Regions from separate parts of the Homo sapiens genome. Here regions 2, 3 and 4 are each linked to region 1. Evidence: promoter capture Hi-C in 16 types of primary human blood cells and fetal thymus (Javierre and others, 2016). All regions are on one chromosome and are shown on one strand. Each heading gives the region's core, a stretch centred on a gene start or on the middle of the fragment in contact. The rest is flanking DNA. Distances are from core to core; before and after follow the strand shown. Region 1 holds the start of SF3B1 (splicing factor 3b subunit 1). Region 2 overlaps GTF3C3 (general transcription factor IIIC subunit 3). Region 3 overlaps GTF3C3 (general transcription factor IIIC subunit 3). Region 4 overlaps C2orf66 (chromosome 2 open reading frame 66).

The links. Contacts are between HindIII fragments. The CHiCAGO score rates a contact against its expected background, and 5 or more counts as called.
Region 2: a contact is called between a fragment that was not itself captured here and the fragment with the promoter of SF3B1 in region 1, in 1 of 17 cell types (monocytes). The highest score is 5.7, in monocytes.
Region 3: a fragment that was not itself captured here is called in contact with the fragment with the promoter of SF3B1 in region 1 in 1 of 17 cell types (total B cells); the score reaches 5.4 in total B cells.
Region 4: a fragment that was not itself captured here is called in contact with the fragment with the promoter of SF3B1 in region 1 in 7 of 17 cell types (naive B cells, total CD4 T cells, total CD8 T cells and 4 more); the score reaches 6.0 in naive B cells.

The regions. Positions count from the first base shown.
Region 1 is chr2:197,433,314-197,436,922 of GRCh38, forward strand. SF3B1 (splicing factor 3b subunit 1) reads right to left here and starts at 1,715. Exons shown (of 25, transcript NM_012433.4): 1 at 1,659-1,715. The coding sequence starts at 1,686. RefSeq lists enhancers at 1,052-1,598, 1,343-2,542, 1,784-2,093, 2,114-2,163. The HindIII fragment of the contact is 13,845 bases long and covers 1,006-3,609 here.
Region 2 is chr2:196,762,216-196,765,824 of GRCh38, forward strand. It overlaps GTF3C3 (general transcription factor IIIC subunit 3), which reads right to left. Exons shown (of 18, transcript NM_012086.5): 18 at 820-2,470. The coding sequence ends at 2,348. Among named protein-coding and RNA genes, the nearest start is that of GTF3C3, 36 kb to the right of the region's middle. The HindIII fragment of the contact is 6,544 bases long and covers 1-3,609 here.
Region 3 is chr2:196,779,723-196,783,331 of GRCh38, forward strand. It overlaps GTF3C3 (general transcription factor IIIC subunit 3), which reads right to left. Exons shown (of 18, transcript NM_012086.5): 9 at 837-940. Among named protein-coding and RNA genes, the nearest start is that of GTF3C3, 18 kb to the right of the region's middle. The HindIII fragment of the contact is 1,482 bases long and covers 979-2,460 here.
Region 4 is chr2:196,802,031-196,805,639 of GRCh38, forward strand. C2orf66 (chromosome 2 open reading frame 66) reads right to left here. Exons shown (of 3, transcript NM_213608.3): 3 at 2,387-3,378. Among named protein-coding and RNA genes, the nearest start is that of GTF3C3, 4.2 kb to the left of the region's middle. The HindIII fragment of the contact is 3,051 bases long and covers 24-3,074 here.

The sequences.
Region 1 (3,609 bases), core at 465-2,964:
AATAGACCAAAGTTTTTAGCTGGGTTTCTAAAAAATTCAGGAAAACTGATCAGAATTCTGATTTTCCTGTCTGAGGGCATCTTATACTGAAGTTACCAATAAATAAGTATCAAAGCTATACTATCAATATCCCCAAATGAATAACATCCTGAATGAACAAAAACAGCACAACTTTATATTTTCTACTTACTTTGCAAAAGGTTATATTTGAGATAGTCTAAAGACAAAATAATAAAGCCTAGGAATACTAAGAGAGCATTTAAATCCTAAATACCTAAAATGGTATACTAATATTAAAGTCATTGACAATTCATTAGCATGTTTGATAAATAGCAGAAAGCTGGACTTCAGGTCCTCTGGGTGACCCAACTATTCAAAGCCATTCACATTCTGGTCCTAATCCAACCTTTCCAGATTCATTTATTTCTTCTCTACTTGCACCCTCTGTTCCTGCTACAGTGGACTACTACTCAAACACACCTTTCACGATTCAATACCTTGTTACAAGATGTTCTCAGGCTCAGATGTCCTTCCCGATTTAAAACTGACTGATCCTTTTAAAACACGGTCATGTAACCTCCTCAGTGAAACAACCCTAAACATAATCATTCCGTTACCCAGGTTCCCAGAACATGCTGCTTTTTCTTCTACTTAAGCATGCATCTGGCCTCATGAGAGAATGAGAACATACACATCTGTTTCTCCTATCAGACTGTAAAATTTTGGATGGCCTCAGTCTCTTACCTCTCACAGACTAATACCGAGCCAAATACCCAGAAAGAACATATGAAACAAAAGTGACTTAGAAGTCTCGTTCTCAGTGAAAATCTCGGATTCCAAGTCAGAAATCAAAGAATGCAGTTCCAACTTCTCATGCCTCGTCTTTTCTGAAAAGTGATCCCATTTTCTGTCATCTCTGGATACTTCCTAATGAACTCCAGTCTATTCCCAACGTTTTCCTAATTTGCACACTCTGTATTCCATAAAACGATCAACTAGCTTGAAAGCTTCGGCCATTAATGAAAGTAATTTATGTTTTCCTCTTCCATCTGCTCCTCCAATAACCAGTCTCCAAAGAAAAAGATCAATATTATACTAAAAGTGACTAAGGGAGGGAAAACAACTACCAGATTTTATCCCCAAATCGTTTCGTGCAAGAAAAATAAACAAGTAACTGACGCTTGAAGACACACAAGGGTAGGAGTAACGGAATCTCGGTTTAACCAAATTCGATTCAGTCTGCCGGAAAAGCGGCTGCCGTATTTCAGTGCTTTTCTGACCCTCTTCTGCACAAACTATGGGGACGACAGTGTCGAGAGGCGAGTGAGACCTTCTCCCCACGCCCGCTTCCCCGATCCCTTGCCCACGAATCCTACTGAGGAAGCCGCTTAAACGAGGCCCTCTGGTCAGAGAAGAGAAGCTACTCTGAAGTAGCAGGTCCCAAACACTGAACAAAGCGCCTGTCGGGGGTGTAAGAGGAGGACGCCATTACGCGGGGCAGTGGCCTGCGCCGCTGGCGCGGAGGAGACGACCCTTGGCCCCGAAACGCGGGCTCAGCTCCTACGAAAGAAACCATAGAAAAAGGCAGAATCCTAGGAAAAAAGGCTTTTATTAGGCTAGCAACGAAGAAAACACGTAAGCAGGGAAAGACCGCTTACCTTCGTGAGTCTTGGCGATCTTCGCCATTTTGTCCACTCGAACACACAGACGGAACTGGCGCTCCCAAGAACTTCCGCTCGTCGCCGCCGCCACGGAGAAAAATAGCTGGGGGCTGCACTCTGCGCGTGCGCCAAACGGGAGCGCGCTCCGTCGGGTGACACGTGACAGAACTGCCACCTAGAGGGAACCGCGAGGTGCATTGTGGGTGGGGGAGGAGACACGGTTGGGCCCTGAAGTCGCCTGCGTGGTGACCCAGGAAATCCCCGAGCCGAGCCGTAAGGTCCTTAAGTGAGTAACTTTGCCCTGGAGGAAAGTGGATTCTACGAAGGGAGTTAAGAACAGACACTGAGTCCCAGCAACTCTGGAGGCTGAGGCGGGAGCATCGCTTGAGCCCAGGAGTTCGAGGCAGCCGTGAGCCGTAATCGTGTCGCGCCACTGTACTCAAGCCTCCAGACCGGGCGACAGAGCAAGACCCCGAGACCCCTCCCATTAAAAAAAAATGAACACTGTACGAAACGCTGCGGTTTCAGAGCTGGAAGAGACCTCAGACATTCAATCCCTTTTCCCAAAATTCACTGGAAGAGCTCGAGGAAAACTTTCCCTTGCAGCTGTCTCAGTCTTTACAGTGCTTAGTTACGAAGACAGTCTTAACAGTCCCATCTTTCGCCCTGTAATTCAAGGTCATTTTTCATTCTTTCTGTTTAATAATTGCAAATAATTTGGGTAGGAATTTCGTTGAGCCTCACAAATCGTTGCTGAGTTGCACAGTGACAATCTTGCCACCCTTTTAAAGCCTTTTACTTTATGGGTTCCTAGAAAACCACTCATCGTCATTATTAACATTCATTAGATGTTTCTCTTAAATCCTAGACGGTATTCCTAAATCAGGAATTTTAATAGATCAGAATACGGCAGTCTGTTTTCCTGGGCATCAATTATAATATAACCTTGTACTGTCACACTGGTCTTTGACTTCGACGATGAAAAAGAAAGAAAGGCTCAGAAAGATGGGTCCCGGAAGCAGCCGAGGAAAACAGGTAGTTATCAAGGTTAGAGCCATCACAAAGAGAGGAGTACCTCGCTATGTGATAAACCTGCAACCCAAATACTAACCATACCATGGGTCAGTATGGTCGTTTGAAGGGAGGGAAATGGTATGGGTGTATTCCTCTTGCAGGAAGACCCCATATCTACTTTGGGTAAAGTGAGGAGCCATTTTCCTGAGGCTAGCGGTAGGTGGGAGATATATGGACAATGGCACTGGACTGAGAGCTTAGATAACCTGTCCCTGGTGACTCCTGACCTGCAGCCTTGCTCCCTCTTTCCCTCTCACCAGACTCCCTCCCTTCTTCAGATCAGGTGACACAAACGATTTTTTTTCTGTTTTTTTGACACACAGTCTTGGTTTGTTGCCCAAGCTGGAGGGCAGTGGTGCGATCACAGCTGACCCTAACTTCGACCTTAAGGTTCAAGAGACTCTCCTGCCTCAGTCTCCAGAGTAGCTAGTACCACCAACATGGGCCACCATACCCAGCTAATTTTTATTTTTTGTAGAATGAGATCTTACTATATTCCCCAGGCTGGTCTCAAACTCTTGGCCTCAAGCAGTCCTCCTGCCTCAGACTCCTAAAGTGCTGGGATTATAGGCGTGAGCCACCACAGATTTTTATTAGCATCAGTAAAGGAATAAATTTGATAAATTAAAATTTTTGGCCAGGCGTGGTGGCTCATGCCTGTAATCCCAGCACTTTGGGAGGCTGAGGCAGGCGGATCACAAGGTCAGGAGTTCAAAACTAGCCTGACCAACACAGTGAAACCCCATCTCTACTAAAAATACAAAAATTAGCCGGGCATGGTGGCACCTGCCTATAATCCCAGCTACTCAGGAGGCTGAGGCAAGAGAATCGCTTGAACCCAGGAGGCGGAGTTTGCAGTGAGCGGAGATAGTGC
Region 2 (3,609 bases), core at 502-3,001, 670 kb before region 1:
TGGGACTTCAGAGAGAACTCTCCTTCGCTCATCTTTACTTCTCTTAATGCAGACACCTCACTTTTTTTTTTTTTTTCAACAGAACGGGTTAACTGCTAGTTGGCCTCATTGTTCTGAAGTTCTGGCCCTACATGAACTATTTCAAGTCTGAAATTCCCAGGGAAGGCGGGAGGAAACTCCTGATTGGCCCAGGTTGGTTCAGGAGCAGACTCCCTCCTCGATCAACTGTGATCATGCAGGAGCAGCAGAGTCTCAGTGCATAAAACAGGTACCAGGACCCCACTGCTAAGGTGAGGATGGGAGGTAAGAGAATAGGAGCTTTTAAAAAGAGACCCCAAAAGATGTTTTTATACAGGGGCTTTGATGGGCTGAAGGCCTGGAAGACAGAAACACTGCCAATGTCTTTTTTCTTTCTAAAATAAACTTATGCTTGGCTGGGTGCAGTGGCTCACACCTGTAATCCCAGCACTTTGGGAGGCCGAGGCGGGCGAATTACGAGGTCAAGAGATCGAGACCATCTTGGCCAACATGGTGAAACCCTGTCTCTACTAAAAATACAAAAATTAGCTGGAGGTGGTGGCAGGCACCTGTAGTCCCAGCTACTCGGGAGGCTGAGGCAGGAGAATCGCTTGAACCTGGGAGGTGGAGGTAGCAGTGAGCAGAGATCATGCCACTGGACTCCAGCCTGGAGACAGAGTGAGACTCCGTCTCAAAAGAAAAAAAAAAAACAAACCTTATGCTTAATGTTTGTTGTTACTCTGAACTACAGCAACTGTGTTCTTCTGAAGGAAAATCTCTGAGCAAGGAGCAGCTTACTAGTGATCTTGAACATGCTATTTAATCTCTAGATACAAAGTGGTGATGACAATATCAATAATAACTACCTTGCAGTTCCCTGAGAGAATCAGAGATAACATATCCAAAGTGTTTAGCACCATACTTAGCATACAGTAGCAGAGTAAAAACTCAGCAAATGGAAGCTATGATTTTAAAAGCTAAACAAAACTATACAATATCAGCTGGTTTTTTTTTCCCTTAGGGAGACTTATTTCCTCCACGGCTATTTAGTAGACACTGGAGCCACAGTCCAGTGAGCTAATTTAAGAGAGAAACTCGGAGCACAGAATGCTCAGTTCCACAGAATTCCAACACACAAGTCTAACTTATTACTGTATCTCAGTTACCTCTACCATTACCTATAAATGGCATAAAGTAAAAATTAAGCATGTGAAACAGTTAACCTCAATTATAAAAATAAAATGCATTTAAATTATACACATGGAGTATACAATATATTTACTTATTGCATACAAATTCTGCTCAACTAGAAAGTTTTGTGTACAGTAGAAACAGTGGTAAGAATTTCTAATAAGTCCCAATTTTATTTCTTTGATCCTAAGCCTCTACTTGTTTCCCTCCCACAATTGGGCTGGGTGTTACTAACCCATGTGCACATTAATTACAGCATTTATTTTTCCCTAAAAAGTTGTTATTAAGCTAACAGTATATCATCTAAAAAGTACTGTTAACTTAAATTCAAGAACATATAATAAATAGTGGAGATGAGTAAACAAACAAAAAAAAAGTTTTTTACTTTATCAATCAGCAGTATGTCCTTTATTCCATACGTACTACTTGCCCAGTCTTATATTACTTGTGATCTTGAAATGGAAACCATGTCCTGTTATTGAACAAGCTCTTCTCTATTTTTTCATCAGAAAGCCACAAATATAGATAAAGCATTTTTTTATTTGCCTTGGAGCAATATATTTTGAATTAAGCCCAGCCTCCCATGTTTCAGTTTAGGTAGCTAAGATACATGCTGGTGAAAAGTAAAAAACTAAATTATTTGTCTTTCTGCCTACCACATAACTATTTTAAATAATTTTCTTAGGTGCTTAGTTATCATGGTCATGACATCATAAAGAGTCCCACTTTGTCTTTCCTTTAATAATAAGCAACCTCTGTTTATACGTATTTGAAAAACTGCCTCATGTGATATTGACAGAGCTATAGTATTAAATACAAAGATGAATAAATGGTGTGAGTGAAAAATAGTGTATTCGACTCCAAGCTAGCTCAAAGGCTTACACGTCCATTTCAACATTGGGAACAATTCACTATAGAATGTGAAAGGAAAATGACAGACCAATATACAAATTTTTGTAGGAATAATTTTGCATATATACCACAAGATCATTATCACATATTAAAAATAAATACACTGTTTGTTAGGTAATTCTGAAATTGTCATTTCTATTTTGGAGTTACAAATAATAAGCCCTGAGACAGAAGACACTGGTCCTCACACAGCAGCTGCCATTGCTCTGTTCTCAGTTGCGGTGCTTTATATAGAACAATAGGTATACAAAAGCGTTTGAGCCATTCCGGTATTCCCACTGCTCTGATAGATGAGAGACAAGTTGTAGGCAATATCTCTTCGTAAGTCTAACTGGTCAAGTTCTATACCCTAGGGAGAAAAAGATACCTTTATGTTTAATATTTCCAACTGTCAACCGGGACAATTTTATGGCAAATTAATAGTTTTATAAGTGTAAGTAAGTTTTCAAAAGGTATTAAAGCTCATGTACTAAAAAAAAATTATAAAACTATGCATATACCTTGGATCAATGCTGATTCAGTTAACAGCATCATCAAATATTTTAACAGTAATTTAAAGTCTCACCCACAAGCTACGGCAGAATAAACGCCAGATGAATTTTGGATTTTAGAGTTAAAAAAGAAACCATAAAAGAAAAAATACAATGGGATAATATAATCTTGGATAGGAAAGGTCCTTTTTATGATAGCAAAAGTAGCAACTATAAAGGGAAAGATTGGTATGACTTCATAAAAAACTTCTCTGTGTAAAAATAACATAGTATTAAATGAACACCAATGAGCCAATGGGAAAACAATTCCTATGCTATCACGGAAAGGCATATAAAGTGTAGGTTTAGGAGGGATACAACAAATTGACTCCAATATTACCTCAGGGGTATTATAGTTTTTCCCACATACATAACAATGCAATGAATTCAATGGACTAGATTAGACCTATGTTTCTAATCTTCCCCAATACAAAAACTTTGGGTCAACTGAAAAAAAAATCTGCAACAATTAAAAATGATACCTATAAAGCTCAATTAACAAGATGTAACAATATTTATGAAATAACACTGTATAAACAACCTTTAATAAACAATCTCTTAGGTGTATTTGAAAACTGCCTCCAGTAATATTGACAGGACTATAGTATTAAATGCAAAGATTAATAAATGGTGTGAGTAAACAATAGTGTTTTTATACATATAAAAATATATATAAATATGTATATATGAATATGCGTATACACCTATTTTTATATATACATATGCATATATAAATAATATGTATGAAATACATATATAAATATGTATAAAATATTCAAATAGTAAATTTATATATAAAAACAGCATCACTATAAAATATATATTCATTTGTTTAAACTGAACAGTAATAGAAAAACAATTGTGCCGGGCGCAGTGGCTCACGCCTGTAATCCCAGCACTTTGGGAGGCTGAGGCGGGCGGATCACAAGGTCAGGAGATCGAGACCATCCTGGTTAAC
Region 3 (3,609 bases), core at 470-2,969, 650 kb before region 1:
GTCACCTTGTTTGTTTGTTTTTGAGACAGGGTCTGCAGTCTCTACCTCCTGGGCTCAAGCAATCCTCCCACCTTACCTCCCAAGTAGCTGGCACTACAGGTGTGCGCCACCACACCCAGCTAAATTTTTTGTATTTTTTGTAGGCGTAGGGTTTCACCATGTTGCCCAGGCTGGTCTTGAACTCCTGAGCTCAAGAGATCTGCCCGCCTCAGCCTCCCAAAGTGCTGGGATTATAAGTGTGCACCATGGTGCCCAGCCAAATGTCACCTGATCCCCTATTGAAAACTGCAACTTTCCCCTGCCCCCAATATTCCTTATTTTCCTCCTTTTTTTTCCAGAACACTTATCACCAGCCAATGTCCCGTATATGTTATGTATTTATTTTATTATCTAATCCCATTAAAACAAAAAAGCATCCCAACCCATGAGGGTATGGATTTGTATATTTTACTCAATATCTTATCCTAAGGTTTACAAAGTAGATGCTAAGTACTTTTTTTTTTTCAATAATATACTTGGTCCAAAGTCCGCAAAAAAGAATAGCTGTCAGAATTATTACCAATTATCTAATGACAATCTCAAATGGTCTAAAGACAATCTCAAATTATGATCTTTAGATTGTTATTTTAAAAGAAAAATAAATTACTGTAAGCCCAATTGCAAAACAATTTTAGTTTTTATAAGATATTCATACAAAATTATTTGATGCTTATTGTTACCTCCTTGGTTATTAAGAAATGTGAAACTCTAGGGTCAAGTTATAATTTCTTGACATCTAAAGAAAAGAGATGGTGCATTTGATCTGAAGTATCTCAAGTGCAGATCTTGTTACATACATTAAGTGGTTCAAGAATGTTGAGATGTACAAGGCAGACCATCAACTTCACTGTGATATCTATTGGCACGCCATCAGGTATAGTGCAGGTAACATTCTCAGGAGCTGGAGAATACACAGACAAGAAGCAGTTACTATATGCAAGCTTGAGATGTGTATCTTCTATGTAAGATCTCATTTATTTCATTCAAAGCAAATGATTCCACAGTCAATTCTTAGTGTGGCCAACTCTATTAATAAGTTCTTATATCTCTCTCAGTCTGTCCTTTGGTAGCAAGTATGCTTCCTATTCGATTTCTAATACCTTATGTACTTATCCAAAACTTACTTTCACACCTTCTACTAAACTACGGAGAACTAAAAAGACAAAAATAATGAGGATATATGAACCCTCTCTCTTTTTTTTCTTGAATTGAAAAGTCTCTTTTTAGTGTTCACTAGAAACAGGCTAAGAAAAGGATAAAATAATACTGTGTTATTTTCTAAAACCTCATTACAACAAAATAATTTTTAAAGCCCTGGGAAATTACAGGAATTTTTATCCACATTTAAAGTAGTTTGCAAAGTCTAATAAATTCCAAATAAGTTTACATGTTTTCGTTTCAGAAAAACCTGAAGTATAGAGGACATCACAGATGTATCCTAAGTGGTGAAATAAAAAATTATTCAAGAATTAAATAACTATCTGTTTTACAGAACTTGTCATATAAATTATGACAGTCTTCCATACCTTCAGGTTCCACATATGCAGATTCAATGAACTGCAGATCAAAAATGTTAAGGGGAAAAAAAAAAAAAAAATATATATATATATATATATATATATATATAAAATTAAATAATACAAACTTAAGAAGCAATACAGTTTAACAGCTATTTACATAGCATTTACATTGTATTATTAGGTTGGTGCAGAAGTAATTGTGGTTTTACCATTAATATTATAAGTAATCTAGAGATGATTTAAAGTATACAGGAGAAGGTACATAAGTTATATGCAAATAATACACTATTTTATATAAGGGATTTGAGTATCCAAGGATTTTGGTATGAGGGGTGTCCTGGAGCCAATCTCTCATGAACACTGAGGGGAGACTATATTGCCTAAAATTACCAAGTTATAGGAGGATTCGGACAAGTTTAATTAAGAGACTGTTTTTATCACTGAGCTCTAAGCCAATAACTGGTATCAGAAATCCAATTAATATATTTAGTCTGCTCAACGAGAGAGCAGAATTTACCTACCATGTAAATTTACTCACACTAAGCCCTGAGCTCCATGAGGACAAGAACCATGTCTGACTCAAGGCTGTATCCACAGCACATTTCTTCTGTAGACAGTAGCTAAAGTCACCTGTCTGAGTAAGGACTAAACACAATGCAGTCATTTTAATGAGCCTTTTTCTTTACTAAAATCTGATTCTATCTTTATCATGTATGGGTTCTACATTCCAACTGTATCACTTTGATTTTCATTCTAGAAATGCTGTTTGCTAACAGTCTGAAATGTTGGTGTCCCACCAAAATACCTGTGTTGATACCTAATGCCCAAGGTTATTAAGAGGTGGGTCTTGGGAGGTGCCTATGTGGGTGGGATTTGTGCCCTTGTAAAAGAGGTCTGAAGAAGCTTGTTTGTCCCTTTTGCCACGTGAGGACACAGCAAGAAGGCACCATCTATGAGAAAAGGGCCCTCACCAGACACCAAATCTGCTGGTGCCCTGGACTTCCTAATCTCCAGAACTGTGAGCAATAAATTTCTGTTGTTTATACATTACCCAGTCTAAGGTCTTTTGTTAGAGAGTCCAAACGGACTAAGACACTGTTCAATAAAATATATCTACGTGTTTTAACTTTCAGCAAGAAAATTATAGTATATGAAATACTTTATATCTCGGCATAGGCCTTAAAAATATAGTGTGTATAGATGCATAGGTCAAAAACCCTGCTTTCATATCAAATCACAAAGTAAAACTCAACCTTATGTTGAATGCAAGATGTATACCTAAAATCAAGTGATTCAGGAAAGCTGAAAATAAAAGGACAAAGGTATAGCAGGCAGGTGCAAACAAAAAAAAAAAATAGGTGTCACAATCTCAATATGAGACAATGTAGAATTCAGACCAACTATATTTAAAAAGGTAAGGAGGTCACTTCATAATGCTACAGGGCAGTGCTACTCAAACTAGTCTGGGACCTGTGCAGGTAAACAAACTGTTACCAGTTCAATCAGGTAAGTATGGAGATTGAGAGTAAGTATTTAGATACTTTAATGGCAACTTGACAATGCTAAGGAAAGCAGTATATATATTTATAGCCCCTACAGCTTATATATTATTAACTAACATTTAACATACACTATCTTTTAAAAAGCTTGTCTTTGTGTCACTGATACTTTATTCTCCTGAACTCCCATTAGGTCTTTCACATTCAGAAGAATTTAAAAATGTGACTGTCAATAGACAATACATAATCTACCATAAATGGTCTCATTTTTTAAAATGCATACTAAAAAACTACCTTTGCTCACTTTGTATCTGTTTTAATCTCCTAGTCTTCTGGACATATCTTTTTCTTTAAAGTTATTTCATCAACACTAAGCTGCCAGATTTCAGATGCACCGTTATTTTACATGCTAAAAAATAAAGAAGCCACTACTTAAACTCTAACCTGTTGTTGATTTATGTTAATATGTGCCAGGAAGGAAGGGAAGGAGGGAAGGAGGGAGGGAGGGAGGGAGGGAAGTAAAATATATTAAACAACAAAATGATTATATC
Region 4 (3,609 bases), core at 299-2,798, 630 kb before region 1:
TGGCTTTTTCATTGTTCTGAAAAAGCTTTTGATAGCTTTGTTCTAGGCTAGCTTTTCAAGGCTGTTTTCAAATCAAACAGCCTTGAAAGGTGGAGCTATTGTCTCCTTCTGGGGCAGGGAGCAAATTTGTTTTCCAAACAGTGTAATAAATGTTTCCCTCTGGGCAGAGTTTGGGCGTGTTTGCTAGCAGTCCCATTAGAAGAGTGGGGATTTCCTAAGTTTGGAGTTCCTCAGCTTTGGCACAAACCCAGTTGTGCACTGCATACCCCTGGACCCACATTCACATGGCTCCCTTGATACTTGGGGAGTCAGGAAAACTGATGTGAATGTAAAACTTATGTCACTACCTGCCATGCCATCAGTAAGAAAGTCAGTTGTCTCAGACATAAGGTGTCTCATGTATCTGCCAAGTTTGATGAAAGGGTAGAAAGCTAGTGTGTAGCTTGCAAGTAGGATAAAAGCTCACACTCTTAACAGTTCTTGGCCACCCTAGATCTGGGACAGAGGACAATAGGCCAAGTGCCGGGGAATGGGGTGCTCACTGAAGAGGAGCAGAAGCTCCTCTCAGTGTTGAGAGATTGCCAAGGACCTATATAGAGAAGTACCAGAGACTTCTCCAGAACATAAAACACCTGCAGAACATTTATTTGCATTGGCGCAAACACTACATACACTTCATCTATGTTCTGGCATTAGTTCTCAGCCAAGAGCAAAATCATTTCACTAGTGAATTTTAGAAATGTGTGTAGGGAGGTTTTGGGGGTTTTGTTTGTTTGAGACGGAGTCTCGCTCTGTCGCCAAGCTGGAGTGCAAGTGGCGTGATCTAGGCTCACTGCAGCCTCCGCCTCCGGGGTTCAGGTGATTCTCCTGCCTCAGCCTCCTGAGTAGCTGGGACTACAGGCACGAGCCACCACGCCCGGCTCATTTTTGTATTTTTACAGGAGACAGGGTTTCACCATGTTGGCCAGGCTGGTCTCGAACTCCTGACCTCAGGCCCACCTCAGCCTCCCAAAGTGCTGGGATTACAGGCGTGAGCCACCACGCCAGGCCCCCGGGAGGTTTTGATTGTCGAAATGATAGGGCAGGCCTGGCACGTGGCTCACGCCTGTAATCCCAGCACTTTGGGAGGCCAAGGTGGGCGGATCACGAGGTCAAGGGATCAAGGGTGACAGAGGGAGACTCCATCTCAAAAAAAAAAATTTCCAGCTGAAGGATGAATGCCCCTGCCCCAAAACTTTGCAAGCTCATAGCTAAATGTCCTATGTGGATGCCCTTCCTTTTCAAAGCCACTGCACTGCACTCCAGCCTGGTGCCACTGCACTCCAGCCTGGCGACAGAGCAAGACTCCATCTCAAAAAAAAATAAAAAATAAAAATAAAAAAATAGGGCAGAGATGGGGAATCTACTAACATAGAGTATCTGGGGACCAGGTGTACTAAATGATCACGCACAGTGATAATTTGGCTTCCCCCAACTGCCAATAGCACTACCATTAAGAAACTCTAGTCAGTGTGAGGTATGGGCTTCCATCCATAAAAATGTTCCAGCTGGGCTGGGCACAGTGGCTCATGCCTGTAATCCCAGCACTTTAGGAGGCCGAGGTGGGCGGATCACGAGGTCAGGAGTTCGAGACCAGCCTGGCCAACACGGTGAAACCCTGTCTCTACTAAAAATACAAAAATTAGCCAGGCGTGGTGGCGGGCGCCTGTAATCCCAGCTACTAGGGAGGCTGAGGCACGAGAATTGCTTGAACCCAGGAGGCAGAGGTTGCAGTGAACCGAGATTGTGCCACTACACTCCAGCCTGGGCGACAGAGTGAGACTCCGTGTCAAAACAAAAAATAATAATAATCCAGTTGAAGGATGAATGCCCGTGCCCCAAAACTTTGCAAGCTCATAGCTAAATGCCCCATGTGGACGCCCTTCCTTTTCAATGCCCTGAAACTGATGAGCATTCCCTTTGTGGAGGTCTTAACACCGAGAGCAGGGATAGTAGTAAGAAAGTGAAAACCAGCCACTAGTACTTGGAACTCGACAGAGGTGAAAAACTCCCTACCACTCTACCATTTATATGAATAAGCTATGCTTTTCTGAAGAATAGCTCATCAAGAATTACTTACACTTTTTAAATGGCAAGAAAAAAAGTTTTGACATTAACTAAAAGCAGATTCCATTACTGTGTGAAAACTGGATGAATAGCACGTGTTTATTTCAATTCAACAAGTATCTATTGAACACTTGCTCCATGCTAGGCATTGTACTAGGTGCTGGGGAAATAAAGGTGAATTAGATATGGTCTCTGCTCACAAAGACCTCACGACTCTTCAGGGGAAACAGACACATATACGACTAATTACAATAGAACATCTTAAACCAGACACAAAATCTGTTCTTGCACAAATATTTTATTCTTCATATACAATATCAATAATCCACCCAAAAAAGCCACATTAAAATATTTTGAAATGCACAGACTAATGTTAGGACAATGTTGCATTTTAGTGCAACATTCCTTTTGCAGGAATCACAGAGAAGATGATGCAGCTATCTATAAAGATACAGGAAAAGCAGCTATTCCAAATGTGAGTATGGGAATCAGAATAACTCAGCATGAGCTAGAGTAAGGAGAGCAGGGGCTGGTTGGAAAGAGAGGAAATCACCTGTTTCTACTTTTCCTTCCTGAGGAGGTTGTGTATGAGAGCAAGGGCTCGGGCATTGCTAGAATATTTGATGTGGCACAATGTCCACCTCTGAATACTCTGGCAAAGAGCATCTTTGGAGGCGTTGACAACTTCTAGAATCCCATGTTTGTTGTTGTTGTTTGCTTCCATTTTAACTTAATTGTGGCTGTTTATCACTTGCCCTCATTTCTTATGAAACTAAAACTGTGAAGTATTTTGGTAGTGTATGCTGAACATGGGAATGCATCTTCTTTTTAGGAAAGGAAGACAAATTTTAAACCCAACCCTCTATCACATATAATGAATTTTACTATACTAAAAGTGAGCATGTCCCTTTAAAAAAATATATTGGTCGATAAAAGATAATAAACATAAAAGACAAGTTTTAAAAACAAGCTTAAAGAAACATCTAATTTAGATTATAATCTTTTTTCAGTTTGTGATGTTTTTGTAACTCCTACAAATACATGCGGTGCTCTACATCAATATTTATGGTTTCATAGGAAAAAAACTCCATAAATATGCATAGAAATCATAGTTCCAGCGATTTATATGTAAATATGGAAATGTGGAATAAAATCATTACAAACTGAAAAATAAAAGTGAGGGGGAAAGAAACTCCATGAAAGTTTAGCTATGACAATGGTTGAATTTTTCTAATGAGAAGCTTCATCTGTAGTTTTAAAATAGCCAGACACCTGAAAGAACAAGACAATGTTATAATTAAATAGAAATTGAAGACTATACAATCAACACAAAGACCCCCAAATCAACATATTTTACTGAAAACTCTTTTTGTCTTCATTTTCTCACCAGAGATGTAAGGAACATAGAGTTCATAATTATGAAATATACTCCAAATCAGAAGCTTTGTTTTTTTTTTCATAAAAGTAAATAATTCCTGTTCTTTTATGATACCACCAACTGGG